Regions from separate parts of the Homo sapiens genome. Here all the other regions are linked to region 2. The links are contacts of gene promoters, found by promoter capture Hi-C in human tissues and cell types (Jung and others, 2019). All regions are on one chromosome and are shown on one strand. Each heading gives the region's core, a stretch centred on a gene start or on the middle of the fragment in contact. The rest is flanking DNA. Distances are from core to core; before and after follow the strand shown.

Region 1 (3,866 bases), core at 454-2,953, 380 kb before region 2:
TCCAGCTCTCCTAGTACAGCAGCTCCAGGAAGGCAGGACTGGTTCTATTTGTGGCCAAGAGCTTAGGATGTGGTGGAGTCTCAGTTTGTTGAGTGAATTTTTTACATTTATTTTTTAATTTTTTGTTTTTTATTACCAGTAGTTGAACATAGATGTTGAGTGAATAGATACCCATCTCACAAGCAAGGAAACTGGGGCTTAGAGACAGTAAGAATCCAACCCTGGACTGTTTGACTGTGCTGTGCTCCATGGTGAGCCACAGCCAGCTCTAGGCAGAGTCAGGACAGGTTCAGATGAGTGTTAGGAAAAAATGAGTATACAATGCTCAGCCCTGTGCCTGGCAGGTGGTCGGCACCTAGCATTATTCCCTGCCTCCGTGTGGACCAGGGCCCCAAGAAGCAGGGGCTTGCCCCTCACACCCCATCCTGGATTCCGGCAGCAGGGATCCCTGGGGACATGTGATTGTCCCTCCCAGCCCTGCACCGCTTAGTAAGGGGGACTTACTAAGCGTCCCCCTAAAGCTACCCACATCAACTTACGCTCAAAGTAAAAACAGAGTTCCTTGGACAGGTGTGCCTGAAAGTGAGTCCCTGAACCTCCTCTCCCCAATTAGACTGCTGCCCCGGGTGCTGTCCGGGAGAGGGTCTGGTGCCGCCCTGACTTGGCAGCGCTTTTCCTGGATGTGCCCTAGCCGTCCCCACCTCCTGCTGAGTTCTGTGAGTCAGAGACGGAACCCTGGGGTCTCCTGGCAGGCCCCACAGTAAGGCCTGGGCCCCCGCACGTTGCAGCCTTTCCTTCCAGACCAGCGGACAAGCCTGGTCTGGAACTATGCTCCTCTCCAGCCATGGCCAACCTGAAGACCCCCACCCCCAGCCGCTGCCAGCCCCTGCCCTGGGGCTCTGCTGTGCCCCTCTCCAGCCCCTGGGCCCTCGGACAGCGCCCCCGTCCTCCCGGCTGTTAGCCTGGGAAGGGGGCCAGGCCCTGAGCTCAGACCTTGGCGATTCCAGAGTGTCTGAGGCCCAGAGCCAGCCCCGCCAGCACGGCCAGACGAAAGGAAAGGGGGGAGGTGGCAGGGTGGGCACCAGGAAGCCATTCCGAGGGGGCTGGCAGGGAAGCTGGGTTCTAGCTTTGTTCTTTCTGCTCCTCTTCTGGACCCCACAGACTTCCTCCTGGGACCTCCGTGAGCCCTGGCCAAAGGCTGTCCCCACCCTTTAGCCCTTTCCTCAGAGGGGATTGGACCAGCACTAACGAGAAGTTACTTTGGGGCCCTGAGACCCCCACGTTTGCAAGGGAGGCTGGGAAAGAGCTGGAAGGCCTGGGCTCCGGCTCCACCCGGCCTCCATCGTCAGTGTGACCCGGCAGGGCCACCTCTCTCCCTCAGCCTCGGTATCTCGCTCTACGCAGGCCTCCCCGCCCCGCCCCGCCCGGAGGAATCCGCGGCCGGCCAGACGGTCCCAGGTGAGGGCCCTCTGGAAAGGGCCCAGCGCGGCCGCGGGTTCCGGCGGGGGCGGGCATCTGGGGTGGGGACTGTCCCCGCGCCACCCCCCAGCCTCCGCCAGCCTGCACACCCTCGCTTCTCCAGGCGGCAGAGGCGACGCTTTAAACAACAAAAAAAAAAAAACTGTGTCCCTGGCCCGGGGCCAGCGTCCCAGCCCCCCTCGCCGCCGCCGCGCCGCGCTCCAGCCAGGGAAAACAACTGCTCACTTCTCCCTGAGCCCTCCCCGCGCGCTCCCTGCCTCCCCGCGGCCGCGGGAGAGGAGCCCGGCCAGGGGGAGGCGCGGAGCGGGCCGGCCGCCCGGCCTTCCTCTCCCTCGCTCCTCCTCTCCGCCTCAACTTGCTCCGGCCTCCTCGCTCCTGCCTGAGTTCGGGGCCTGGTCTGGGCTTCGTCCTGGGGCTGGGAAGTTTCTGCGCTCCCCGCTGTCCAGTCTGCATCTCCGCGCCTCCCGCCGGGCCCCCGCGGTCCCCTCCCGCCCGCTTCCCCCGCTGCCCTCCCTCGCTGCCCCCTACCCTCTCCCGGGGCTCCCGGCCCTCTACTCCCTTCGGGCGCGGGCCCCTCGCCCCGCCCGGGCGCGCCCCCCCTCCCCCGGGTCCTGCGGCCCCGGATGCCCGGGCCCCGAGGGGCTGCTGGCGGCCTGGCCCCTGAGATGCGCGGGGCGGGGGCGGCGGGGCTGCTGGCGCTGCTGCTGCTGCTGCTGCTGCTGCTGCTGGGCCTGGGCGGCAGGGTCGAGGGGGGGCCGGCCGGCGAGCGGGGCGCAGGCGGGGGCGGGGCGCTGGCCCGCGAGCGCTTCAAGGTGGTCTTTGCGCCGGTGATCTGCAAGCGGACCTGTCTCAAGGGCCAGTGTCGGGACAGTTGTCAGCAGGGCTCCAACATGACGCTCATCGGAGAGAACGGCCACAGCACAGACACGCTCACGGGCTCCGGCTTCCGCGTGGGTGAGGGCCGGGGGCACGGCTGGGGGCAGGGGAAGGACAGGCACCAGGCCCGGTGGGAGAGCTAGTGGGGTCTTGGCCTTAGAGACTGGGGGCTGAGGGTATAAAGGGCAGAGATCCGAGGGCCTGGGGGACCAGGGGCCTCAGGGAACTTGGGAGGCTGGAACTCTGGGGGCCAGAGTTGGAGGGCTGCATGGAGGCCTGGACTTTGAAGCTTTGCGTTAGGGTTGGGGCCTAAGGGGTGGGGAAATGCAGAGGTCCTGGATGACACTGGCTTCCCAGAAGGTGCTGAGTTCTGAGCAGGAGCACACAGGGTTTTTGAGGAATGTGAGCCGGGGACAGGAAGCCTCAGAGAAGGGCTAAATATTCCCGCAAGAAGCAGACTTGCTGGAAGAAACAAGAAAAGTCTTTACAAAATGTCTAAAGTAGGGCCTGCCAGAGTAGACACCTGCATTCCCTGGGAGGAGGAGCTAAGGTCAGGGCTGGGGATGGGAGCCGGCTACTGGCAAGGTCTGAGTAGGGAGGGTGTTGAGGCCTAAAAGTAGGGTGCAGGCCTGAAGGTAGGGACTAGTTCGGGGTTCTCAGCCTCTCCTTTTCCAATGCCTCCCCATAAGCTCCTAACATCCTGCCTCAGAGGCCCTCAGGGCCCCCCTCATCCTCCCCCAAGCCCCTACACCCTCCCCAGTTCAGCTTGGAGTCCACCCCCTCCCCAGCATCTCTCTTTAAAGGGCCAGGCCTGGGGCTCAGTCATCCTCCTGCTAGGCCCCGTGGGCCAGGCTCGGGGAGGTGTCCCAGCAGTAATTACCCTCCTGGACAGGGTAATTAGGCCAGGCCCAGGATGGCACCAGCAAAACAGCCCCTCTTACACATTCCTATATTCACTCTCCCACTCACAGAGCTAAGGAACCCCACTCATGTGGCTCAAATTTGTCATGAGATGGGGTGTGCGTGCGTGTGTCTGTGCGCATATTGCCCCTGTGTCTGGGGTCATGCCATGGGCATGGCGTGGCACACTGTGAAGTACCCGTCTTTGTGTTGTCTTGGGTGTGTGTCTCTAGTCGCTGTTAGAGAGTATGTGGGAATGTTTTTGTTTTTGTGTTTTTGAGATGGAGTTTTGCTCTTGTTACCCAGGCTGGAGTGCAATGGCGCAATCTCAGCTCACTGCAACCTCCCCCTTCTGGGTTCAAGTGATTCTCCTGCCTCAGCCTCCCAAGTAGCTGGGATTACAGGCATGCGCCACCACGCCTGGCCAATTTTTTTGTATTTAGTAGAGATGGAGTTTCACCATGTTGGTCAGCCTGGTCTCAAACTCCTGATCTCGAGTGATCTACCTGCCTCGGCCTCCCAAAGTGCTGGGATTACAGGTGTGAGCCACTGCGCCCGGCCAAATGTATGGGAATGTTTATGTGAACCTGTGTTGGTGTCAGGATGAGTCT
Region 2 (3,783 bases), core at 1-2,500:
TCTGTGCGGGTAGCTCCATCCACAATGAACTGGGGGTTTGACAGCAGTTCCTACGAGAGACCCAGAGTCCTGTTCCTCGGCCAGCCCCTCCCAGAAATTGGCACCAGGCCACCCCAGACCCCATTCCCCACCAGGGACATGGAGTCCCATCCCTACTCCTCATCCAGGATCTGGCTTAGCCGAGTCCCACCCAGGATGGCCCCTCTCACCGTGGGACGCTTCCACTTGATGCCATAGGTCTTGGAGGAATTGGGACCCAGGTCCTTGTAACCCAGGCTCTGGGGTACCGGGGGGAAGGCCTCATCACGGAAGAGGGTCCCACTCTGCAGGCATCGCACCCGCAGCTGCTCATAATCCTGGCCCAGGTACTTGATGGCATTCTCATGGCGGCCCAGGCCCAGCTCCCTGGCCCGCTGCTTCTGCACTTGGGCTGACACCCCAGTGCAGTACACCGGCGTGATGATCTCCTCCGACATCCTGCCGGACAGATGGGCCTGCTCAGAACCCAGGCCTTCCCAAGACTAGAACCTGGGCTCCTGCCTGCAAGCTCTGCTCTCCTGCCCCTGCTTATCCATCCCCAAACCTAGGGTTTCCCTGCCTCACTGCTCCCCTCACAGAAGTAGGGTTCTCAGCCACCTCCCGGTGCTCCCAGTGAATCCAGGAAAGGGATTTCCCAGTTCCCAGGCGTGCCGGCCACCTCTCCTTTCCCGGATCCCATTGTCAGGGGCTTGCAGCTCTGTAGTGAGCCAGCAGGTCAGGTGGGGCAGGGCGGAGCCTCCAGACAGCACAAGGAACTGGGCAGGTGGGACACAGCAGGGAAGGCCTCTTTGATCCTGTTCACAGGCCTGCAACCCCCTCCCCAAACTAACCAAGCTCCTGGTGCACCGGCCCCTTGCCGTGGGCTGAAAACCCCAGACGGTCGGGGTCCCCCTCCTCAGGCCCCCGCAGCAGGCTCGATATCAGAGCTGGTGGGCCCTAGCCCAGCCCCTGGGGACAGCGGTGAGCCAGGCTGGGACAGGCGCCTGGGCTGTGCCGCTCCGCCAGCCCCCACCCCTGCTCCAGGAACGCAGAGGCCCCCGAGAAGGGACCGTGCTGGGGCAGCCCCTCAGCCCAGGAGCAGTGGCCAGGGTCAAGGAATCCCGGCTCGGCTACCCAGCTTCTTACCTGGGGGAGGGGTGTTTGGGGGTCGCTGCAGTCCCTGAGGCTGGCTTCCCGGTGGCAGCTCAGGGCAGGGCCCAACCAGGAAGAGCGCTCCTCCCCGCCCTCCTCCCGCCGCCCCTCCGCCCTCCGCCCTCCCTCTCTCCTTCTCCTCCTCCTCCTCCTGGGGCTCCTACCCCGCTTCCTCTCGGCTCTCCCTTATCTCTCCGGCACGGTCTCTGACTATCTCTTACTCACGGTGTCTCCCCGCCCCTCCCTCCGCAGGCCGGGGGCCAATTCCGCGAGAGGACAAATTAGTAAAAGGCAGAGCAGTCCCCGGGGAGGGGCCAGCGCGGGGGGGGATGGGGGGGCTGGGGCGCGGCGGAAGGGCACCGCGGGGAACGGAGGGGGAGGGCCGGGCAGGGGGTATTTTTAACCAGGGGCAGCAGCTCGAGTTGCAGGGCCGGACGGCCGCACCCCACGCGCGCCCTGGCGGGCATTCCGGGGCGATTGTGCGGCGGCGCCGCCTCCCGCAGCCCCGGGCCCGCCCGGTCCCCAGCTCCCCTCGCTCCGCGCGACCGCAGCTGCTCCCGCCGTTCCCAGCCAGCCCCGGCGCGGGGCCGAGATTACCTCGGGCTGCGGCAGCTGCTCTGAGGAGGGGCCGGGCTGGCAGCGAGCAGACCCCTGCCGGACACTCAGCAAACGGCAGCCTCACCCCGCAGGGCCGCGCCACTCCCCTTCCCCACCCCACCGCCGCGTCCCGGCTCAGCGCTCCCCGGGGAACGCAGGGGGACCGGGCTCGCTGCGTGACCTTGGGTAAGTCCCTGCCCCGTTCGGCCCGACTTTCCGCATGCGTGCATCCTATGGGATGGGGTTGGGCAATTGTGGGAGCCCATCTTTCTCTAACGTTCTGGGGTTTCTTGAACCTGGAAACTTAGAGAGGTGGACATCCCTGTTCTCTCCCCCAGGCTCTCAGCCCACCCACCTGGAAGCGCCCATGTGTCACCTTACCCAGGAGAGGGCGGCAGAGGCTGCGAGCAGGACGGCAGCCCCCTCTCCCCACCCCCAGGACCCTGAGATCCTGCTTCACGGGCTGCAAGAAGTTGGGGGGCCAGGATTCGGCGCGGAGGCCGGGGGTGTGGGTGGGGAGACTGCAGAGACTCCCGAGACCCCCCCAAGTCAGGGCTTTTCGCTGGTCTCGCAGCCCCAGCCCAGCAGCTGCTGCAGTCTTGCATGTTGTGGATGCAAGCATTTTGCTGAGGAAACTGCATAGCGTTCCCAGGACTCTAGGGCCCACGACCCCTCAAAAGTTAAGAGCCGCTGATCTAATCTAACCCCACTTTCACCCTCAGTTAACAAAAGAGGAAAACTGAGGCCTGAGAGGGTGTGACTTGCCTGAAATACCTAACCTGGTGAGTGATGGGTGGAACCAGCTCCTAGGCTTTCTGCGCAGGTGTCCAGGGACAGAGAAGGGTGGTTTAAACTAGAGAGGTGGCAGGCAGAAGTAGATGGATTTGATAACTATTTAGGATACACCATCAAAATTTAACTCAAACTGGATTACACACCTAAATATAAATGGCCAAACCATAAAACTTTTTTTTTTAAAAATGGAGACAATCTTAACAATATTGGGTTTGAAAAGATTTCTTTTTTCTTTTCTAAAGGCAGGGTCTTGCTTTCATTGACCAGGCAGGAGTGCAGTGCCCTGATCACAGCTCACTGTAACTTTAAACTCCTGGGCTCAAGAGATCCTCTCACCTCAGCCTCCTGAGTAGCTGAGACTACAGGCACGTGCCACGACACACAGCTAATTTTTAAATTTTTTGTAGAAATGGGGTCCTGCTGTGTTACTCAGGCTGGTCATGAACTCCTGGGCTCAAGCAGTCCTCCTGCCTGAGCCTCCCAAAGTGCTGGGATTACAGGTGTGAGCTTTGGCACCTGGCCAGATTTCTTAAATATGACACAAAAAGTGTAAATGATAGAAGAAATCAATAAATTGAACTTCATCAAAATAAAACGCTTTTGTTTCTCAAAATGCACGAAACTATTAAAAATGAAAAGATAAGCCATAGACTAGGACGAATATTTGTAAAAATTCTATCTGATGTAGGACTTGTATAAAGAACTTTTACAATTGAATAAAAATCCAATAAAAATGGACAAAACATTTGTTTGTTTTCTGGTGTTTGTTTTTGTTTTTGAGATGGAGTCCCGCTCCATCACCCAGGTTGGAATGCAGTGGCGCGATCCTGGCTCACTGCAACCTCCACCTCCTGGGTTCAAGCAATTCTCCTGCCTCAGCCTCCCCAGTAGCTGGGATTACAGGCGCCCGCCACCACACCAGGCTAATTTTTGTATTTTTAGTAGAGACAGGGTTTCACCATGTTAGCCAAGCTGGTCTCAAACTCCTGACCTCAAGTGATCTGCACGCCTCTGCCTCCCAAGGTGCTGGGATTACAGGGTGAGCCACCGCGCCTGTCAAAAAATGGACAAAACATTTGAACAGACACTTCATCCAAAAAGATCTCTGGATGGCAAATAGGCACATTAAAAAACACTGAGTGCATTACTCTTAGGGAAATGCAAATTAAAGCCACTAGAAGGACTGCTTCTAAAAGAACACCTACTAGAATGGCTAAAAGT
Region 3 (3,585 bases), core at 887-3,386, 260 kb after region 2:
TTGAGACAGAATCTCGCTCTGTCAGCCAGGCTGGAGTGCAGTGGCACAAACTTGGCTCACCACAAGCTCCGCCTCCCAGGTTCACACCATTCTCCTGCCTCAGCCTCCCGAGTAGCTGGGACTACAGGCGCCCGCCATCACACTCTGCTAATTTTTTAAATATTTTTTAGTAGAGATGGGGTTTCACTGTGTTAGCCAGGGTGGTCTCGATTTCCTGACCTCATGATCCACCCGCCTTGGCCTCCCAAAGTGCTGGGATTACAGGCATGAGCCACCGTGCCTGGCCCATAAGCACTTTCTGAATGGCTGTCCTATCAGCCTGCCTCCCTGAATGGAGCCTGCTCCTTCCAGGTAATGAACTATCTCCACTTACTAACCCAACCCCAGTTACATAGGATAAAACTGAGGGTCACAAGAGGAGAAGAAACCACCCATGGGTGGGACTGGAATACAGGTCCCTGCCCGGTGGGCCAGGGCGGTTGCCCTTGCTTCAGGCTGAGTTTTGGCATTAGAATGTAAGAGTCCAGCTCCCAAGTAAGATTAAAATAGAAACACAGGCTAGGTGGGGTAGCTCACACCTGTAATCCCAGCTACTCAGGAATTCCTTGAACCCAGGAGCCAGAGGTTGCGTGAGAGGAGACTGCACCACTGCACTCCAGCCTGGGCAACAGAGCAAGACTCTGTCTCAAAAAAAATAAATAAAATAGAAACATAGGCCGGGCACGGTGGCTCGTGCCTGTAATCCCAACACTTTGGGAGGCCAAGGCAGGCTGATCACCTAAGGTCAGGAGTTCGAGACCAGCCTGCCCAACACGGTAATTAGCTGGGTGCGGTGGTGCATGCCTGTAATCCCAGCTACTCTGGGAGGCCAAGGCAGCAGAATCATTTGAACCCAGGAGGCAGAGGTTGCAGTGAGCCAAGATTGTGCCACTGCACTCCAGCCTAGGTGACAGAGAGAGTCTGTCTCAAAAAGAAAAGAAAAGAAACATAATTACCTATGGCTGTTCCTGAAGTCGCCCATGATGTAAGAGGTTTTGTGTGGCTGCCCCCTACAGAGCAGCGGTTGGCAAACTTTTTCTGTGAAGGGCCAGAAAATAAATATTTTAGGCTTTGCAGGCCTCTGTCTCAAGTACTGAATTCTGCTCTTGTAGCAAGAAAGCAGCCCGGGGCAGAACTTAAGCAAATGAGCAAGACTGTGTGACACTAAAACGTTATGTATAAACACTGGAATGTGAATTTCATATGATTTTTCACATGCCATGAAAAGTTCATTCTTCTTTTGATTTTTCCCCTAACCATTTAAAAGACATAAAAACCATACTTAGCTCAAAGGCCGTACAAAAACAATGCCCCCCTGCTTAAAGGAGGCAGAATCCATTCTTTGATTTTAGGACTAGAGATATGAAAAGCTATTATTATTTCAGAGAGGTGCCTAAGGCCTGACCGACGGCAGAGAGAAGGGAGGGTCAGTTAATCTCCCTCTGAGCATTCCGGGGTGAGGAGGGGAAAAAAGACCTTCCTTGGTGATGGATTCAGAGCCCTTATTTATTTTTGTTTGTTTTTGAGGCAGGGTCTTTCTCGTATCTTAATCTGTTTTCTTACCTGTAAAGCGGTGGCAATAATCCCTACCTTGAGCGATTATTAAGAGGGCTCAATGAGATAAAGGATGGTAAAAGATTTTGCAAAATGCGAATGTTTACTCACTTAATTGTTTCCACAGATGCGCGCTTAAGATCGCGCACTGAGTTTACTCCTCTGGGGAAGGCTTCTACGAAGTTTGATGGGACACTGTCCCTTTAAATCCTCCCCAACCACTTAAAGTGGTTGGACGAATCAGCACATGCGCATTCCTTTGAGGGGCCGGCACCTGGAGCAACAGCCTTCCCAGAGCCTGTAGAGGGGAGGTTAAAGGTCCTCCCACACAGTACTTTACGCAAGCGTAAATCATGATTGAGAGCCCTATATCATGCAGAGAGCCCAGTCCCTTTTTCGCGCCCGAAGGCTCCGCCCCGCGCAGCCAATCAGTAGGCCTCGCCCTTTGCAATAGCCAATGACAGTGAGCGTAGGGGGCGTGGCTGGGCGTCCGGAGGCGCGGCCTGGCGCCTAGAGAAGCGGCGGGGCGAGCCGGGGGCTCTAGTGAACAGCGGAGCCGGACGGGGATCGCCGGCGGGCGGCAAGCGGAGGCGGCCCAGGCCCGGCGGTCTCCGAGATGTCACGATGGCTGTGGCCATGGTCAAACTGTGTGAAAGAGCGGGTCTGCCGCTACTTGCTGCACCACTACTTAGGTCACTTCTTCCAAGAGCACCTCAGCCTGGACCAGCTCAGCCTCGATCTGTACAAGGGCAGCGTTGCCCTGCGAGACATCCACCTGGAAATCTGGGTGAGGAGCCAGGCCCGAGTCCAGGAAGGTGCGGAGGGTGGGAGCGCAGCGACCTGAGGCTCCCTGCGGCAGGATCGGGCTGGGGGATCAGGCACCGGGCGTAGAGAGGCCAGGGGAATCTTGCCCTCTCCAGGCGTCAGAGGCACCCCGGCTGGCCTCTTCAGTTCCTTACCAGAGCCAGAAACTGAGCGGGAAGGGGTTTCTGTCTCCACGGGAGGAGAAACTGAGGCTGGAGAGGGCAAGATCACCTGTCTGGAGAATGCAAGACAAACTCGTCGAGTTTGGGGGCTGAGTTAAGGAGGTTGGCTCTCGGGCTGAGGAGGGGCTGGGGAGGGAGCGTAGGAACTGAGCTGGGCCAGGGCAGTGACAGACTTGGGCCTGCGCAGCTGGTGGGGGAAGCTGGTAGGGGTCCGGAGCCCTGGCGAGGACACCTGTGGATCATGTGCCCTGACCTCTTGACCCCACGGTCCTGAGCCCGTAGGTGGGATCAACAAACCACCGGATGTGTATGTCAACAACCGCGTCAGTACGTCAGTACCAGTGTTGATCAACACCTCGTGTGCCTGGGTCGCTGCCTACTTCCTGCTTTTGGGAGAGTGGGATGGGCCAAGTGGGTGTCTAGGGAGGGACTGGATGGCCCCCACCTACATCTCCCACCGACCCCCCCGGCTCAGTGTCCCTGCCTGGAGGGAGGCCCTGGAGGAAAGGTGGGGAGATCTGGCTTCAAGCCGGGAGGAGGCCAAGGGAGATGCTAGGGAGGCCAAGAGGTGTAAGGTCAGAGGCTTGAGGCTGGGAACGGTGAGGAGCCCTGACTCACAGCTCAGCTGACCTGGGGAGCTTTGAAGGAGCCACCAATTAGAGGCGCGTCCTGGTCGATCCACCAGGTCCAGAGCAGCAGGGGTGGGCATGGAGGCAGGGACTTCTCAGTTTTGTGGCTGGACTCAGGGGGCTGCTAATCTGGGCAGAAGAGCTAGGCTTTGGGGGTAGGCCAGGCCCTGGTGAGCAAATGTGGGGTAGGATAATCGTGGGCCCTGAACTGGGGGCACCCCCCAGTGGCCTGCTGTCTGTGAATTCTGGTGTAGGAAGCCCTCTCTGACCTCTAACCTTAGCCTCAGCCTCTAAGGCCGTCTCTAGGCTGCCCCTTTTTTATTTTTATAGAGACAGGATTTCGCTATGTTGCCCAGGCTAGCCTTGAACCCCTGAAG

The links. The method cuts DNA at HindIII sites, captures the fragments that hold promoters and counts their contacts. A contact is called where the count stands out against the background at its distance.
Region 1: a contact is called between the fragment with the promoter of LTBP3 here and the fragment with the promoter of CAPN1 in region 2, in 2 of the 25 tissues and cell types used here (mesendoderm cells and spleen).
Region 3: a contact is called between the fragment with the promoter of ATG2A here and the fragment with the promoter of CAPN1 in region 2, in 1 of the 25 tissues and cell types used here (mesenchymal stem cells).

The regions. Positions count from the first base shown.
Region 1 is chr11:65,556,196-65,560,061 of GRCh38, reverse strand. It overlaps LTBP3 (latent transforming growth factor beta binding protein 3), which reads left to right and starts at 1,703. Exons shown (of 28, transcript NM_001130144.3): 1 at 1,703-2,433. The coding sequence starts at 2,103. RefSeq lists silencers at 1,425-1,584, 1,635-1,874. The HindIII fragment of the contact is 15,125 bases long and covers 1-3,866 here.
Region 2 is chr11:65,179,395-65,183,177 of GRCh38, reverse strand. It overlaps CAPN1 (calpain 1), which reads right to left and starts at 1,250. Exons shown (of 22, transcript NM_005186.4): 1 at 1,165-1,250; 2 at 210-477; 3 at 1-50. The coding sequence starts at 476. CAPN1-AS1 (CAPN1 antisense RNA 1) reads left to right here and starts at 1,344. Exons shown (of 2, transcript NR_145677.1): 1 at 1,344-1,953; 2 at 2,106-3,307. RefSeq lists enhancers at 1-773, 774-1,563 and silencers at 586-880, 1,482-1,931. The HindIII fragment of the contact is 8,891 bases long and covers 1-3,676 here.
Region 3 is chr11:64,915,760-64,919,344 of GRCh38, reverse strand. ATG2A (autophagy related 2A) reads left to right here and starts at 2,136. Exons shown (of 41, transcript NM_015104.3): 1 at 2,136-2,380. The coding sequence starts at 2,210. It also overlaps a transcript of PPP2R5B not described here. RefSeq lists an enhancer at 1,735-1,864 and a silencer at 1,915-2,224. The HindIII fragment of the contact is 28,686 bases long and covers 1-3,585 here.